Linked DNA regions of Homo sapiens: regions 1 and 2 are each linked to region 3. The links are contacts of gene promoters, found by promoter capture Hi-C in blood cells and fetal thymus (Javierre and others, 2016). All regions are on one chromosome and are shown on one strand. The core of a region is centred on a gene start or on the middle of the fragment in contact, and the rest is flanking DNA. Distances in the headings are between cores, read along the strand shown. Region 1 holds the start of TIGD2 (tigger transposable element derived 2). Region 2 has its middle 8.1 kb from the start of DAPP1. Region 3 holds the start of SMARCAD1 (SNF2 related chromatin remodeling ATPase with DExD box 1).

Region 1 (4,311 bases), core at 1,522-4,021, 5.1 Mb before region 3:
AGATGGTATCAGAATTGAAATGAATTATAGGATACCCAGCTGTGTCCAGTGGAGAACTGCTTGGTGTGTGCTGTGTTGAGCATATAGTACATGAGAAAGAGTAAGGCAACTTTGCCTTAGGCACCCAACATTCTCATTTTTTTTTGAACCTACATTTTTAAGAAATAGGCTTTATTTTTTAGAATGGTTTTAGGTTCTAAAATTCCACAGAAGATAGGGAGATTTCCCACATACTCCCTGCCCCCACACATCCATAACCTCCCTATTATCAATATTGCCCACCAGAGTGGAACATCAGTTACAATTGATGAACCTGCCTTGAAACATTTTTATCACAGAGTCCATAGTTTCCATTAGGGTTCACTCTTGGTGTTGTACATTCCGTGCATCTGAACAAATGTTTAATGACATGTGCCCACCATTACAGTTGTACAGAGTAGTTTCACCACCTTAAGAATCTATTATTGGCCAGGCAGGATGGCACATGCCTGTAATCCCAGCACTTTGGAAGGCTAAGGTGGGAGGATGACTTGAGCCCAGGGGTTTGAGATCAGCTCTGGCAACATAGCAAGACCTCATCTCTACAAAAAATACAAAAATTACCTGGGCATGATGGCACGCACCTGTAGCCTACAGTCTCAGCTACTCGGGAGGCTGAGGCAGAAGGACTGCTTGAGCCTAGGTGGTTGAGGCTGCAGTGAGCCCAAGCCATGGTCGTACCACTGCACTCTAGCCTGGGCAACAGAGAGAAGCCCTGTCTCAAAAATACACATACATACACATACATATATTCTTATTATATATATATGTGTGTATATATACATATTCTTAACATTCTAAGTCCTCTCCCCCTTGTGCTGTAATATGTCTGCCACAACTAGCCACCCCTTCCCCCAACAAAAGGAGAAAGTTTGCCCAATAAAACTGTTTTGTGTAAAGACACAATTGCCTTGAGTAAAATCTTAGTAAAAGTCTACTAAATACAATTGCCTTGAGTCAAGCGGTGTTTTGAGAAAATCTAGAAATGTGGGCTGTATCCAGATTTGAACTTACACAAGGTGATAAAAAGGGAACAGCTATAAGACATAAAACAGCAAACTGGAGAATCCAGGAGGAACAGAGAAAAATGCAAATGGTATCTGGAAGAAAATTAAATCCTAGAGATACTGTGGAAAAGAGAGGAAGAGTAAGAGGCAGGATTCCTTTGTATTTAAATATCCTGGGACACAGCTACTCCAGCAGACTCGGGGGAGAGGCGGAAAGGCAGGCGGCTGACATCTGGTTACAGGCTGCCTCATTTCCACATGGGTGGCAGTCGGTAAAGTGCTGTTCTAGCAGTCTTTCACGCTCTTCACAGGTATCAGGGAAAATAAGAATATTTTGTAAAGTTATATAAAACTACCATGAAGTAAGTTATAATGTACCCAAAACAGGCAACCAGGACTTCCAGAAAGGGACTGGCTTGTTGGAAGCCAAATGGAAGGCAGGGAAGAGGGGAGGTCTAAAAGCAGGTATTCTCCAAAAGCCACTTACAACCTCACAACATAACTAGATCAAAGAATTTCTGTCATGCCAGATAGTGGAAGGCTGCTATGTTGAGAAAGGCAATTGAGCAGTTTTGGCGGCGGAGTCAAACAGAAGGCTTAGAATCAACATCTGTTTTCTACAGTATGCTCGCTTTGATTTCCATCTCCAAGTTTCTGAAATTCCAGAAACAGTATATGGCCTTGTCAAAGAAATGACGAATTACTATGTTACTTTGTGTTAACGAAAAGGTTACATTTATGTTCATATGGAAGAGATAATTCACTGAAGAATTTCCAATTTTTCAAACTGACACGCACACACAAGACGGAAAGGAAGGCAGCCTGACCGCGTTTCCCAGGAAACAGGTGGTGCAAGGTGGAGGTGCACCACTCTCTCCTCCAGGAAGGCGGTGACCCTTCCGCAGATGTCTCCGTTGGAAACAAATAAAGGGAGTATCAGTCAAAGCGCAATTCCCCGATTCCACTTGAGAAGCCCCGGGCGTCGAGGCACGGCAGGAAATTTACCACGACGCCTCCCACTGGCTCAAGGGTCTCCCAGGTGCTGTCGATTTTGCAAAGGGTCCGTCTCTACAGCGACTGTGACGAGTTTCGGAGCATCAGCACCGGGGAGCGCTGACCCGACACTCGGCTCTACCGCAGCCCGCCGCGCCTCGGCACCCTGGGCTTGTCCGGCTGGGTGTTGCCGAGCGAACGCCCCAGCTCCTGCCCGGAACCCACGTCCGCCGGCTCCTACCGTGCCTCATGATCCTCGCTCGGGCTAGCACTTTCCACGCGCGCTGACTCTGGGCTCCGACACCTGGACCGCCTCCGCAAGGCGGCGCGGCTGCTGTTTGTAAACACGCCCCACGTGCGCTCGCCCTGCCCCATTCGCAGCCCGCTCCCGGCACGCGAGGATCCTCCGCTTTCCCCCCAGCACTGGGGGGGTGAGATTTTAAAATTTCCCCCTAGGGAGAAAAGAGCCTCGTCGGCAGAGCCGGGCCACTGGGAAAAGCGCCAGGACAAGGCGAGCGTGTGCCTCCCCCTGCCGGCCAGGGAGGCACTGCGGCCCCGAAACGGCCAGGCGGTGAGTGGAACCCACGCAGCGCCTAGAGACGCACCCCTGCCGGGCCCCCGCCCCTCCCGCCCGCTCGCCGGAGTCCCCTCCCCCGGGCCGCGTGCGCTCACCCGCGCAGGCCCCGCCCCCTCGCCGGCACAACGTTCTGCGGGGGCGCGCGCGTGCTCTCTAATCCCCCGCCTTCCGGCTCCGGCGGCGACGCTCGTCCCTCTCCGCTCGTCCCTCGCCGCTGCCGGGCCACCAGTGCCAGCCTGCCTCAGGAGACTCCATTTGCGCTTAGTGTGGTCTGGGCGCCGCGCAGGCGGTCCCAGGGCGATGCCCGGGGCCGGCGGACTGGCGTTCCCTGTGCCAAGCGGCCGCCCGCTGGCTGGCTGGCTGCAGCAGTGACATCCTGGTCGCCGGCGTCCAGGCGGAATCCGGGCTCCCTCCGCGGGAGGAAAGACGTCCCGCGCTCTGAAGCTCGCCCAGCGGGGAGAGGCCCTCGCTAACACGGCTTCTCCCTGACCTCTTAATTTCAGGAGGTAGGCTCTTCAGGTCCCTCTCTCTGTCACCCCAGATTATGCCTGAAAGCATTATTTGTCGTATTTAGCTATCACATTGATAGGAGGCGTTAATTTTCTCAACATAGTTGCAGGATAAATGTGGATAATGCCACAGATCCTGATGTTGAATTGAAAGAAAATGTTTTTGGTATTTTCCTTTAGGTTTCGGAGCCTCCGAGTATCTCTACAGCCCCCACAGGAACTGCTTCTGTTGGTCCATCGAGGATCGTCTTTCACCAGGATTATTGTAACATCATCTTCACCGAGCCTGCCACCCCATAGCCTCTACCTTGGGTCCTCATTTCCACCGATGCAGTTTTTTTGATGCTTTCTTTAGTAATGTGACATCACATGTCCACTATCCTCCTTTCCAGCTGCCAAATCTAGTAGGTTTAAGTCGCTTTTAAAGTAGAGTTTTCTGCCTGTTCCACTTTCACCTTATTTGCACTGTTCACTTCTGTCCGGGTCATCTTCTCTTGCGTATGATTTCCACAAGCACTCACTTGCGCAACCTATAGCAGAGTCCGTGCCTAGAGAGACAGCATTCCATACAATCCACTGCTTGACAAAGACCACATAGTCAGAGGGTGAGTTTTCCCATTGTATTTTCCTGTATGTCAAGTTTGCAAGTCCTCTCTTGACTTAAACTGTTTACTCCCTAGCACATTTCCTAAAATACTTCCACCTGAGATTTAGTGGCTATTCTGGCAAAGAACATTACCTGCAAGGATGGCAAGAATTGAGTATGCAATAGTACTGTTTTAGAAGCCTTACCAGTACAGTTTCTAGCCTCTAGTGTGATTGCACTTCATGAAAGACCCTGAACCCTGAGGAGGAAGAAAGATAGAAGATAAGAGTTAATTGGCGCTAGGCTTTGTTGTAGGAAGTTTGTAAGTTTTAAAATAGCAAGTAGATTCACGTAGACCTTGTCAGGAAATTGGTCACTATCCATCTAGGCCCTAGAAGTGAGAGGAGGAATCTTACGAACTCATTTTCTAGTTGCTTTGTATTCAAATCTTAGTTGTTAATTATCTTGTTCTAGTAATCACCTAAAATATTAGACACTTAAAATGTTGGGGAAACGTAAGCGTGTGGTGTTGACAATTAAGGACAAGCTTGACATTATTAAGAAACTTGAGGAAGGCATCTCTTTCAAAAAACTTTCCGT
Region 2 (4,300 bases), core at 679-3,178, 5.6 Mb after region 3:
ATTCTTCCTCCCAGGGACTCCCTTTTTTACTCCCAGAAGTCCAGCTCCATCCCTTTCCTATTTGCCCTTGTCTGTCAGACTGGTTTGTATCCTAAGCCTGGATCAAGTTAAGTCCCCCACCATGGGACCTCTGGTCATCTGGATCATCAGTGTCATCGAGCAACCTATTACCCTAAGAAGGCCTTGTTTGCTGAGAGCACTTGGAGGATCTCCACAGGGAGCCGCCAACTCCTGATGCCAGCATAGCTGAGTCTCAGCTGAGCTGCAGCCAAGAGTTACTGAGACAAAAGAGTTTGAGGTTACTTAGTTGATACCTCCAAGCCCGAAAACCTTTCTTGGTTTTGGAAGTCCTTCTTTTTCTCCTTACACAGCCCATTGCTCGTGAGCACACACAGATGGTCCAAGGAATGACAGGCTTCTTTTGTGATGGGTGTTGACTGACACAAACGTGGATAGCTTATTAGGTCACAAGGTACCATCTTTTCTTGGCACAGGCTTATGGCACTCGTTATTGCCCCAGGAGCCCACAGACCCGTCACCACATTACTTTTGGTCTGCAGGCTCTTCCACAGACTCGGGTGCTCTTCAACCTTTGCCGAACATCAGAATCACCTGGGGCAACTGTCCAAGATGCAGGCCCCAGGGCCCTGTGCCTTGGGGATTTTGAGGCTGGTGGTGCACAGCCTGTCCTGGGAGAAGCCCTGCTGCAGCCCTTAGCTTTCAGCTTCCAGTGTGTCACCTCCATGCTCCCCACCCTCCAGGGTCTTCTGAAGCCTTTATTTTTGCTCTGATGTGGCCCCCTTCAGGGCCAGGTTTATCCTTTTTGCTTCGGGTGGATTACTGGTTCAGTCACCTATCACACCATCCTGTCAGTACTCTCTTTTATAGTTCTCCTGCTCTCTTCACATTTTTTTTTTAACCACTCATAGTTCCTCATAATTTTGCTCTTCCTCCTGCTTCCATCCCCCACCTAACCTTCTGGATAAAATTCACTTTGTGTCTGGGCACAATGACGGATGCCTGTAATCCCAGCACTTTGAGAGACTGAGGCAGGAGGATCACTTAAGGCCAGGAGTTCAACACCAACCTGGACAACACAGTGAGACCCCCATCTCAAAAAAAATCATCTCTATAATGTCTCCTTTAGATAGACAGAACAAAAACATTTACATGTTAAGAGAAACTTCTCTTTACCACCCTTAAAATATTTAAAATACCAAAGATCTCATATTTATATGATTAACAGAGAAAACTCAGACCCATGGGCCACCCAGGAACAGTGACAAAATCTACTTCAAAGTTGTTGCTGTGGCTGAGTCACTGTCTCTGTAATCGGGGAGCTGTTCCCAAGCTGCCTTCACTGTAACGCTGAGAACCCTGAAGAATTTTCACTATTTCCAGTCACCGTTACTGTGACAGGGCTCTACGTTAGCAGTTTTAGAGTCACCTACATTCCTTATTTTAAATGAAAATTGAAATGCTTTGAAGATTTATATTTACCAAATGAGCTGAGGAAAAAGTAAGTGCTTAAAATATATTGCAATTGCAGAAATGAAAATCATTTTTAGGTATAAAATTGAATTTTTAGATTTCAATCACTTCCTACTCATTTAAATTCTTTCAGTAAAGGTCTCAAAGCTTTAAAGGGAAAAGAGAGCAGAACTAAGAATTGAACCATTTAAAACTTGGTGAGACAGGTAATAAATTATACCTGAATCATTTAATGGTTTAGTAGTCTGGCGTTTAAGGAATCTTCTACAAATGTGGTGTTGGGTAGTATCACCTGAATTCAGCTACTTTAATAAAGAACTATACTTTCATAGAGAGGAAGGAAAAAGCGATGGATCTAATCTTGACTTCAGGTAAAACAGCTCCCCCGCGCCCACCAACGCGGTATTACTGCCACCTAGTGATAGCATATCCTCATCACAGAGGTCCTGCCTGTGGAAGTGGAGGGGAAGAGGTGTAGTAAGCACAGCCAGTAGGGCGAATCCACAAATTAAATACACCCGGGGGTTGGGGGTGGCGAGGGGAGCGCTAGAGTAAGGCTATATTTTCTATAATGTCCATTCTCATTGCTTCCAGGGCTATTTTAAGAAATATTTATTTTGATGGGGTTTCAAAGTAAGTCATATGAGGACCTGTAAGCCACAGTTTTTACTCCCGCGGAGTTTGTTTTACGCAGGCTTCAAATGGACAAATAACATACATCTGAGGTTCAAGCTTTCTATTAATTTAATGCTGGCCTGGAAAACATTTTGTGATTTAAAAGAAAGCACCAAAGTTAGCTGTATTATTACTGGACTCAGCAAGGAAAGAATTGGGCTCAGTCAGAAGTGCCAGAATCCCTGTAACTAGGGGTGAAATCTCAGGCAAGTATCTTAATAGTTTCCAACCCCACTTGCCCAACCTGTTAAATAGGGGAACTGAAGTAGGTTCCCTCTAAGATGCTCTCCATGAAAAGCTCTAAGACTCCTCTTATTCATTTCTGAAGTCCTACCCCAAGGTAGACCAAACGTTCTGACATTTTGGCTGAGCTGCTCCATTCACACACATTATCATGAACGATTTCAAATTTTACCCATTTTCAAAAGCTGAATCTACCCTGGTGCTTCGTGGAAGCTAAGAATCTGGGAGATATCTCAGCTGGCCAGTTGGTCAAATTATCTTTGTTATTTGCCATTAGCTCCCGTTAGTTAACACAGCAATCTTTTCAGATGAAGTGTGGACAAGAAGACAAAAAGTATTTGGATAGGGCCCACAGGATCCAAAAGTGCGTAACCTTGTTTAATTTCATTTGGTTGAGTTAGCAGCTACTTTTGCAGACTTAAATGCAAAAATGCTGGTGTGTTTGAAGTTTCATTTTTGTCCAGGCTTTCATTACTCAGAAATCAGTGCTGACACAATTAAGCATGACCTTTCCATGCAGATGGTGCCTTGCTTCACCAGCACAAACAGCATCTGCCACACTCACCCACAAGTGCACATGTTTGCATATTTTTAAGACACTGCATCTAAAAATGGTAAAGTAAGTGCTGAAGTAAAGCCTTTGCGGAAGGGAGCATAATATCACTTAATCTGTTTGCATTACCTGTTAAGAAAGCCAGAGTGAAGTTCTAGGAAATTAGGAGACATGCAAAACACAGCACTCTTCTTAAACCACACATGTGCTCTCTTAACATTATTGGAATAATGTATTAACACTGCTCTATCTGAAGGCATGTTGATTTGCTGTGCTAAGAGGTGTTTGGTTAAATATAAATCATCCCCAGCTTCAGCAAGAAAGCCTAATATATATTATGTATGTGTGCAGGATAGCTTCAGCAACCCTGGGTATTTGTTTCTAAAAAGTCACATTATTTCAAAGTTAAAAGGGAACTTAAAAGTGACTTAGAATAACTTTCCTTCTAATATAAGAATCTTTTTTACCAGTGACATACAAAGGTGAGGGGGTGCTTGGGAGCACTTTAATCCCTGGTATAGTCAATAACAATAAAGAAACAGGCTGTGCGTTGTGGCTCATGCCTATAAACCTAACACTTTGGGAGCCTGAGGCGGGAGGATTGCTTCAACCCAGGAATTCAAGACCAGCCTGGAAAGAATGGCAAAATCGTGTCTCTACCAAAAAATACAAAAATAAGCCTGGTGTAGTGGTGCATGCTTGTAGTCCCAGCTATTCAGGAGGCTGAGGTGGGAGGATGGCTTGAGCTGAGGAGGCAGACATTGCAGTGAGGTGAGATCATGCCACTGCACTCCAGCCTGGGTGACAGAGCCAGACACTCTCTAAAAAAAAAAAAAAAAAAAAAAAAAAGAAAGAAAGGGAATAAAGAAACAATGATAATGATAAAACCAATGAGAAGTCATTCTGCTCTTTATTATCACCAGAAACCAGCAATTCTAACCAATGTCAATGACAGAATATACCTCTCAGCAGAGGCAAACCATTCCTCACTCCCTACCAAAAACTGAACATTTGTGTCCCACAAAATTCCTATGTAAAAGCCTAATCCCCAATGTGATGGTATTTGGAGGTGGAGCCTTTGGGAGGTGATTAAGTCATAAGGTCATAATTCTCATTAATGGGATTCATGTCTTATAAAAGAGGTCCCAGGGAACTTCCCAGCCCCTCCCACCATGTGAAGACACAGCAAGAAGACAGCCAGCATCTATGAACCATGAATCAGGCATTATCAGACCCCACATCTGCTGGTGCCTTGATCTTGGACTTCCTAGACTCCAGAAATGTGAGAAATAAATTTCTGTTTTGTGTAAGCTACCCAGTCTGTGGGATGGGGTGGGG
Region 3 (4,076 bases), core at 310-2,809:
CGCCATTAAAAAAAATGAGATCCTGTCATTTGCAACATGGATGGAACTGGAGGTCATTATATTAAAGGAAATAAGGCAGGCACAGAAAAAAAACTTGGTATGTTCTCATTTATTATATTTGTGGGAGCTAAAAAATTAAAACAATTGAACGTATGAGAAACGGTAGAACGATGGCTACCAGAGGCTGGGAAGGGTAGTGTGGGGCGGGGGAGGACCCCGGTGGTCGGTGAGCATGGTTAATGGGTACGAAAATACAGTTTGAATGAATAAGATCTAGTATTTGATAGCACAATAGCATGACTACAGTCAACAACAATTTATTGTACTTTTTTTTTTGAGACAAGAGTCTTGCTTTGTTGCCCAGGGTGGAGTGCAGTGGAGTGATCTCGGCTAACTGCAACCTCCGCATCCCAGGTTCAAGCTATTCTCCTGCCTCAGCCTCCCGATTAGCTGAGATTACAGGCGCCCGCCACTACGCCCGGCTAATTTTTTGTATATTTAGCAGAGACGGAGTTTCACCATGTTGGCTAGGCTGGTCTCAAACTCCTGACCTTGTGATTCACCTGCCTCAGCCCCCCAAAGTGCTGGGATTACAGGCGTGAGCCACCACTCCCAGCTTATTGTACATTTTTAAATGACTAAAATAACTGGATTGTTTGAAACACAAAGGATAAATGCTTGTTATGGATACCCCACTTACCCTGATATGATTATTACACATTGCATGCCTGTATCAAAATATCTCATGTACCCTATAAATATGTACACCTACTATGTACCCGCAAACATTAAAAATTAAAATATTTTTAAAAAATTAATTAATTAATCAAATTCCATTCTAAGAACAATCAAGCCGAAAGTGAGGAATTACTTTAAATGCTTTGAAGCTCAGCATCCCGGGGTTCTTATCCGTCACTAATTACCTATACATTTGCAGGTCTCAGTTTCTTTGCTTTGTAAACATAGGCTTCTTGTAAGGATTGGGATTATACACTGAAAAAGCTTAGCACAGTATTATTACTATTATGCTATCTACATTATATTATAGGTGAAACACTACAGATTATAATACATACAATATATACTAATTGTATTATATATTGTTATTTTTTGTCATTATGCTATTTACTATTGTTCTATTTAATAACTCTCTAGATAATTTAACAGGACAAAGGTACAGAACAATCTGGCCCTTACAAGCCGGCGGAGACGGGTACGAATTACCATGACAACAGCGCGCGCCTCGACATTGTCGGCTCGCGCGTTGTTTGGGAAGAAAAAGCCTAGGCTGCGTGTTGCGTCATCATTACGCGCTCTTAAGGTTTCTCCGTGGTGTTTTGGAAGGTCCCGGCACGGCTACCGTCGCCCCACGCTAGGAAATTTTTTTTTTATTTTCAACCTTTGTTACATAGCACTGAGGCTACAAGATCGTAAGTACTGAGGGAAGAAAGAACAAGCGAGCGATTGAACGTTAAAAAGATGCCTTAGCATGCACTCCACCTCTGAACCTTCCTGTGTGTTCTTAATCCTATCAGCTTCCTCTCAGCTGGGATCGCGCCGCGTCAACTTCCGGGCGGATGCCCGCCAGCACGGCCTCCGCCGCTCCCCTTCTTTGGCCCCTTTGTGTCCCCGCAGTGTCGAGGCGCGGGCCCTGGCAGGTCCTTTCTCGAGGCAGGGGGCACGGTAGCACAGGGAGCTTCTCTTTGTGGGCGGGCGCGAGGCCCGCTAGGGGGTTATACTGGGGAACGTGCCTGCGCGTGCTTGGGTAAGAGGAGGTTGCATGAGGGTCAGCTCGTGGTTTCAGTAAGGAGGGGCGGGCGGGGGAGGCGGACGAAGGGGAGTGAAAAGCAATGGAAAATTTTAAAAGATACCCCCGTCCACCTTCTAATTGTTGCGGCCTAACAATGAAGCGCAGCCATAACAGTCCTGAGCCACTGGCATGTTTGCGGGCCCTTTATTGCCTTGGGAATAAACTGCTGTGGCATTGTATCGTATATTGTTTTCATGGCCTTTTTTCCTCTCTTTATTTTTCCCCTGCAGATAGTTCATTTAAAGCCCCCATCCCTGCAAGGTGGTGCTTTCTACCAATATGAATCTTTTCAACCTGGACCGTTTTCGCTTTGAGAAAAGGAATAAGATTGAGGAAGCGCCCGAAGCAACCCCTCAACCTTCCCAGCCTGGCCCTTCTTCACCAATTTCTCTTAGTGCTGAAGAGGAGAATGCTGAAGGGGAAGTTAGCAGGGCAAACACTCCTGATTCAGATATAACTGAAAAAACAGGTGAGTTACAATGTTAAAATTGATGTAACATCAAGGACAGTTTTTAAAAGATGAAAGGCAGAAGGGATTCTCATTTTTATTCTTGATGTCATATATATTGATGCATTGTCCTGCGGTGTGCCCTTTTAAATACAGCTTTGGGACTGCCATAAGCACCATGTACCCTCAACTGAGCATCCATCCATTGTCGCCTCACTTTTATATGAGTTCTTCGAATATGGCCCCATGGTGGAAGTTGAAATTAGAATTTAGGGCATCCATAGGTCAGAACGGTTGCTATTGGAAGAGCGATGTCAGTGATTCAGTCCTATGATAAACTTTGAGGCTATTTGGGCAGACATTTTCATTCATTCCAGTATTCCCTCAAAATATTGATCATCTACTGTGAGCTAGACATTGAGCAAGGTGCCTAAAGACAACCTCTGTACACAAGGGAAGATCAGATCACATCAAGTTCTTGCATCCACCTGACTTCCTGGATGTCCTCAGAATGCAAATGAGTAATTGGTATTCTTCATGGTGAATGAACATTTTTAACCTCATCAGCAGATTGTCAGAGACAAAAGTATTTGAGGATAAGCCAAAAATTAAGATTTCCACTCGAATCTATGTTCATTGAACAGTTAACTATTAGAGGAATATATTTGAGCTCTTGTTGTATTATAGGAATAGTGATAAGTGCTTCACCTTCTGTCATTTAATTTGCACAATAATCCTACAAGGTAGATATTACTGACATAGAGGTTAATGTGAAATGAGATTCAGAGAGGTTATTAGGAACTTGGTAGAGCCTGAACTCAAGTCCTGGCAGTATGATTCCTGAGCATAAACTAATTAGTTAGTTTCTTAGGAAAGGTGAAAGGAATGTTGGAAGTTATATTTTAATATTTATTTCAGTAATATCTTTTTTTATGCAAAACTCTGTTTCGTAAACAGCTTTTAACTTAATGTAGCCTGAAAGATTGGTAACACACATGTTTATCCTTGGTATCTTTTTGTTTGCCACCCTTCTACTTAAATGTAATAATGATGGCAGATCCTCTGCAAGTTATCATTAGAATAACATTTTTAAATACTTTGGTGTAATTGGAAATTGGCAGAATGATTTGGTAGATTGGATTAGGAGTCAGATTTACAAAGGCTTTGTCTAAGTAGTTTTGAATTTAAATGCTATAGGGAACAACTGAAGGATTTTAAGCACCAGGATTTTAATCCCTGTGTTCACTCTTTGAATAGATATTTGACATCCAGGTATTTTAATGCTTTTCCAATGAATATATTTGTCTGTTTCCTCTGTAGTTAGATAGTTCAGGAAAGCCAAGGTGTAGACATGGGATTTCGAGTCCATAGAAGCTTCTGCTTCTTCATTTTTGTTAAATGTGGGACATTAGACAAGTCATTTGAAATCTGTGATCCACACTTTTTTCATCTCTGAAAGTGAAAGCAGTTTGTAAACTGGATTTCAGTGGAATGTTTTAGTTATTTATCAGTATTGGTCATGTGAAATCTTTAATTTCCTTTAGTGATCAGAAGATATTTTTCTGTTTTTATTTCTTTCTAATGATAACACTCATTTTCTCTTTATTGGGACTTTTTTCCATACATAAATTCTGCTTAAAAACTGAGATTGCTTTAGGAATTACATGATCAGCCTTGATGGCTTCGGGAAATAAGAAAACTAAGTTTGTTCTAGGAATGTTGAGAATTAATCCTTGTAGGAATGGAGCACTTTGCTTTAATAAAAGATTGTTTTAAATGATACTGTGAATTTTGGAGAATCTTGAAAACTGAGAAGTT

The links. Contacts are between HindIII fragments. The CHiCAGO score rates a contact against its expected background, and 5 or more counts as called.
Region 1: a contact is called between the fragment with the promoter of TIGD2 here and the fragment with the promoter of SMARCAD1 in region 3, in 6 of 17 cell types (naive B cells, non-activated CD4 T cells, total B cells and 3 more). The highest score is 20.5, in naive B cells.
Region 2: a fragment that was not itself captured here is called in contact with the fragment with the promoter of SMARCAD1 in region 3 in 1 of 17 cell types (total B cells); the score reaches 6.4 in total B cells.

Annotation. Positions count from the first base shown.
Region 1 is chr4:89,108,762-89,113,072 of GRCh38, forward strand. It overlaps TIGD2 (tigger transposable element derived 2), which reads left to right and starts at 2,772. Exons shown (of 2, transcript NM_145715.3): 1 at 2,772-3,122; 2 at 3,306-4,311. The coding sequence starts at 4,214. RefSeq lists enhancers at 2,280-2,389, 2,420-2,499 and a silencer at 2,580-3,029. The HindIII fragment of the contact is 10,355 bases long and covers 1-4,256 here.
Region 2 is chr4:99,806,549-99,810,848 of GRCh38, forward strand. No RefSeq gene overlaps it. Among named protein-coding and RNA genes, the nearest start is that of DAPP1, 8.1 kb to the right of the region's middle. The HindIII fragment of the contact is 585 bases long and covers 1,637-2,221 here.
Region 3 is chr4:94,206,306-94,210,381 of GRCh38, forward strand. SMARCAD1 (SNF2 related chromatin remodeling ATPase with DExD box 1) reads left to right here and starts at 1,560. Exons shown (of 24, transcript NM_020159.5): 1 at 1,560-1,765; 2 at 2,041-2,279. The coding sequence starts at 2,090. SMARCAD1-DT (SMARCAD1 divergent transcript) reads right to left here and starts at 1,251. Exons shown (of 9, transcript NR_125922.1): 1 at 1,225-1,251. RefSeq lists enhancers at 1,179-1,538, 1,637-2,140. The HindIII fragment of the contact is 2,630 bases long and covers 1,001-3,630 here.